2 separate regions of the Homo sapiens genome follow, and region 2 is linked to region 1. The links are contacts of gene promoters, found by promoter capture Hi-C in human tissues and cell types (Jung and others, 2019). All regions are on one chromosome and are shown on one strand. Each heading gives the region's core, a stretch centred on a gene start or on the middle of the fragment in contact. The rest is flanking DNA. Distances are from core to core; before and after follow the strand shown.

Evidence for each region. The method cuts DNA at HindIII sites, captures the fragments that hold promoters and counts their contacts. A contact is called where the count stands out against the background at its distance.
Region 2: a contact is called between a fragment that was not itself captured here and the fragment with the promoter of PAIP1 in region 1, in 1 of the 25 tissues and cell types used here (lymphoblastoid cells).

The regions. Positions count from the first base shown.
Region 1 is chr5:43,555,787-43,558,351 of GRCh38, reverse strand. PAIP1 (poly(A) binding protein interacting protein 1) reads left to right here and starts at 1,275. Exons shown (of 11, transcript NM_006451.5): 1 at 1,275-1,770; 2 at 2,353-2,522. The coding sequence starts at 1,506. RefSeq lists a silencer at 980-1,839. The HindIII fragment of the contact is 2,914 bases long and covers 1-1,718 here.
Region 2 is chr5:43,080,830-43,083,394 of GRCh38, reverse strand. The region is part of intron 2 of LOC100506639 (a long non-coding RNA gene); the gene reads right to left. Among named protein-coding and RNA genes, the nearest start is that of ANXA2R-OT1, 15 kb to the right of the region's middle. The HindIII fragment of the contact is 3,027 bases long and covers 1-2,565 here.

The DNA.
Region 1 (2,565 bases), core at 26-2,525:
ACGCAGTAGCCACTAGCCACATGTGGCTCTTGAGCCCTTGAAATGTGCCAATCCCGACTAAGATGTGCCATAAGTGTAAAATATACACTGGATTTCAACTAGTATCTAAAAAACAGAGAAAATATTTAATATTTTAAATCGCATGTTAAAAAACCATTTTGAACATAATGGATTAAATAAATTTAAATTAATTTCACCTGGTTTTTGTTTTGTTTTGTTTTGTTTTTTGAGACAGAGTTTGGCTCTTGTTGCCCAGGCTGGAGTGCAACGGTACGATCTCGGCTCACTGCAACCTCTGCCTCCTGCGTTCAAGCGATTCTCCTGCCTCAGCCTCCAGAATAGCTAGGATTACAGGCATGTGCCACCACGCCCGGCTAACTTTGTATTTTTAGTAGAGACGGGGTTTCTCCATGTTGGTCTGGCTGGTCTCGAACTCCCGACCTCAGGTGATCCGCCCCCCTCGGCCTCCCAAAGTGCTGGGATTACAGGCGTGAGCCACTGCGCCTGGCCACACCTGTTTCTTTTCACTCATTTAATGTGGCTTCTCCAAAATGTAAAATTACATAAGTGGCTTGCATTTGTGGCTCGCATTATATTTTCATTGGACAGCACTGATGCAAGATGAAAAAGAGGGCAGAGTTACACTGAAAGGTAGCACATTTTCTTGAAATTTCTGGAGGGGAAGGTTAACGGGAAGAGAACGAAGCTTGTTAAACGTAGGTGTGACCTACTGTGGTAAACACCTAGGGTGAATTAAAGAGGGGACACATATTTTGATTCCGTTTCTACTCCCTTCCCCCGATGCTAACGGAGCAGGTGACAGTCTCCCAGGGACCACTCCTCAGCAGTCCGCGGGTCTCGGCCGGAGCCGAGTCATTGAACACACCTGTGCGCCAGCGAACCCTGGCGCAGGGTCCACGCCCCCTCCCCCCGTGTTTTTATTTCCCGGGCGTCAACTGTCGGTCTCGCACGTCTCTCCTGAGAACTACCGAGTAGGTCGGGCCTGCCTGTGGTAAGCGTCCCCCTCACCCCTCATCCCTCATCCCCCCCAGCCTGGCCCCGGAACCGAGATGCCCCTGCCCGAGCCTGGCTGCGGGCCGGCAGGTGGCCAAGACGCCACTCGGCGGGCGGCCTGCTGGGCCCGGCGGCCGGCCAGCCGCGAACTGGAGGATCCTCGCGGGCGCGTCCCGGGCCTCCGGGCCGCAGGGGGCCGCTGTGACCCGCCTGCGCCCCTGCCGCGCCGAAGGCGGGGAGCCGGGTTTTGGGGGAGAACTGGAAAGCCGAGGGTAGCCGAGCGGGGCGGGCGCTCTGGAGCGGCGGGTGCTCGGGCTGCCGTCCGCTCCGCCAGAAGCACCGAGCAGCCGAGCCGGGGCCCGCCGCCCTCCTCCTCCATGAGGCCCGAGTGAGGCGCGGCGGCTATAGCCGACCCGCGGCGCCTTCCCCCCGCGTCCTATCGCGAGCGCAGCGGCAGCGGCCCCTGGAGGAGGAGGCGGAGGAGGAGGAGCATGTCGGACGGTTTCGATCGGGCCCCAGGTGCTGGTCGGGGCCGGAGCCGGGGCCTGGGCCGCGGAGGGGGCGGGCCTGAGGGCGGCGGTTTCCCGAACGGAGCGGGGCCTGCTGAGCGGGCGCGGCACCAGCCGCCGCAACCCAAAGCCCCGGGCTTCCTGCAGCCACCGCCGCTGCGCCAGCCCAGGACGACCCCGCCGCCAGGGGCCCAGTGCGAGGTCCCCGCCAGCCCCCAGCGGCCTTCCCGGCCCGGGGCGCTCCCAGGTACGGAGCAGCTCTAAGGGCCCCAGTCCTCCTTGGCGAACGCTTCCCCACGGCCCTCCACGCGTGCCGAGGCCCGACGCGCTGTCTGCGGTCCCCACCCCCGGTTCCCCGAAAGCATTCCCCGAGAGGGCCGCGTGACCGGGTAGGGACGGGCCCGGAACCGGGTTTGGAAGGTGTCTGCTGGAATCCTTTGTGCGCCTGGCTGGGGGGAGGGGCCGGGTGCGCGGTCTCGGAGTTCGGGGTCCCGGGAGGAAGTAAAAATCGCCTCCCCTCAGCAGCCCTCTAAAGCGAGACCCTAGCGAGTAACCACCTCTTTTCCACCGACCCCTTTAAAACGACAGAGAGGAAAAAAGCTCGCAAGCACTCATTTGAGAGGCAGGTATGCCCATAACGGAGTCACAGCAAGTCTATTGTTCCTTTTTGTAGGCTGTCTGTACACATTCCGGCGATAACCATAAATTTCATGATGGTTCCTGTTTAACTCTTAAAAACAGACGCTTTTCAGATGGTTTTTCAGTATATAGCAAGTTGCTGTACAAAGGAAAGAATGCATCTGACGCCCCGTTTTTTTTTCTTTTGCAGAGCAAACGAGGCCCCTGAGAGCTCCACCTAGTTCACAGGATAAAATCCCACAGCAGAACTCGGAGTCAGCAATGGCTAAGCCCCAGGTGGTTGTAGCTCCTGTATTAATGTCTAAGCTGTCTGTGAATGCCCCTGAATTTTACCCTTCAGGTTATTCTTCCAGTTACACAGTAAGTACACCCTTTTTCCTACAACTCTGGGTTAATTTACTGG
Region 2 (2,565 bases), core at 43-2,542, 470 kb after region 1:
ATCTCAAAAAAAAAAAAAAGAAAGAAAAATTGCATTTCAGAAAAAACACTATAGTACACCTGTTATTAGACTCTAGCCCTGCCCATTGTTTTTGAGTTTTTGTTATTTGGCTACAATTTAGACCAAATACTAAATATTTTTGTCTCTACAAGTCTCTGAACTGATGTTTCCATTTTTCTTGGTTAGACTCACTAAAGATTAAAATTGTGCTTTTTCTTAAAGCCCTGCCAACTGAAGTTAGGCAATATAAACTTCAGGAAAAATCACCAGAGCAACTTACATATAACAGCTAGGAAGGGCAAATAAAAATACTAGGACCCCAAATTCCCTAAGTTGAAGGGAAAAGTCAAGCTTGGACCCAAGTCACATAAAATGGCCTCTTATTTTTTCCTCTAAATAGAGAGCTACAAAGACAAAAGGCTATATACCATCTTCAGTTTGCTCACAAGGAAATTTCTTGTGGACCTTGATATCTGTACCCTAAAATAGTTCTGTTGAATTTCACCCTAACAATGTAAATTAACAGCTTATCTTCATGGGTACTGGACAAAGGACAGAACTAAAGGACATCCCTCCACCCACCTGAACCTAAAATATACCCAATGTACCCCTGAACCTAAAATAAAAGTTCAAAAAATTGATTAGATTCAGATGTATCTTTGTCCACTCCTTTATTTTCAACTCTTTTTATCATTTTACTTTATGTCTTCAAAATAGCATAGAGTTTGAAGCTATAATTTCTTTCTCTCTTTTCTCTCTTTATTTTTCAAGAGATGAAGTATTACTCTGTCACGCATACTGGAGTGCAGTGGCATGATTATAACTCATTACAGCCTTTAACTCCTGAGCTCAACCAATCCTCCTGTCTCAGCCTCCTGAGTAGCTGGGACTACAGGTGTGTGACCCCATACCTTGTTGTAGTTTACTTAATCTATTAATGCAATTGTACTTATCTTTTCACAGGGTAGTTCAATACACTGAATGATTGTATAAGTGGGAAAAGTGGCATCCCCCTTGTCCAGTTTCTATAAGGTACAATTATACCTGAATAACTTTAGTTTCATGTCTCATCTTTTAGTTCTCACCACTAAACTAATGAATTATCTGGTTGTAGAGTTTGAGAGGGGATCTACACATGAAAAGTTTGGCCCCTCACATTCCACCCTCTTTTATTAAGCCAGCGCCTCCTGGAAAACTGTGCTATGCTTGCTTCTCCATGCCCCACATTTCATAGACACACAGCCTCACTTGAGGAAACTTGAGGTTGTGTAACTCTTCCTGAGGCTGGATAGATAAATGCAATTCTGCCGTCAAGAGGTCCATTTTTGGTGTTAGCATTAGGCCCATCTTCCAATTTAGTTTATTGTGTGTGATTTTCCTGTATCCCTTATTTCCAACCCTTCAATTCAAGATAACCATCCACAGTTGGTTATTTTATTACTAAATTGAATATTCTGTTGTTTACCTTTTTACATAGTTTTATTTTTATCAATATGTATCTACATATTGTGTGTTTTTGTTAATTTTATAAAATAAAACTGTGTTCTGTGAAGGGAAATTAAACTTTGGGACCCCAAACTCATTTAGCCAAAGGGAAAAGTTAAGCTGGGAACTGGGTCACACAAACCTGCCTCCCGCTTTTGATTCCTAAATAAGATGGCTACAAGATGAAAAGCTACATGCCTCTCCCATATTTTGCCCACAGGGAAATTCCTGGTGAGCTGTTAAAACTTCACCATGGCAATGCAAATTGATAGCTTATCTTTACATGTGCAGTCACCCTGCTCGCCAGACACAAATGCATATCTGATTGTTCCCTCTACCCCATTTTGTCTGTTATCTTATGTAAAATGCAGATTCCCCATATTTTTCCTCTGCCCCTTTGGTTTATGTGAAAACTGTGCGCTTCTCAATATCCTGCCCTTTCCCCTTTAAATTTGGAGCCCTCAAAATCATCATCAGAGAAAGGCATAGACCTGTCTCCCAGGCATGTCCTTAACTTTGGCAAATAAACCTCCTAAAATGATTGAGACTTATCTTGTCATTTTCCTCAATTGACAGTTCTATGTAGTCTTTTAAACTTTTTCTCTGAATATTATGTTGCTATAATGCAGCCATGATTTTGAGTAATGTTGTAGTTTATTCTGATTTTTGTAAAATATTCCGTTCTGTGAATATAATATGTTCCTTTCTATCCGCTCTCCTATTGTTGGAGTTTTAGTTCCTTCCTCCTCAGCAAATTTTTGTTACTGTGAACAGTACATATATGGACATTCTCTTCCATGTTTCCTTGTGTGCATGTGCAAGAATTTCCCTTGGATATAGACCTAAGAATGGAATCAGTGGCTTATGAGATATTCCTAAACTTGTTTACTCTATCTTTCCATTTTAACAGGAAAGTTCTTACTTCTGTCTTATTCTTTGTAGACTACCATTGAATAAAGGCCTCAATCAACCATCCATACCTACTGCAGATTCTTCTAGATGCTGATGTATGCGGAACCCAGAATTTCTATTCTTGGCACCCATATAAGTAAATTTTATTTGTTCTGCATTATGTTCTAG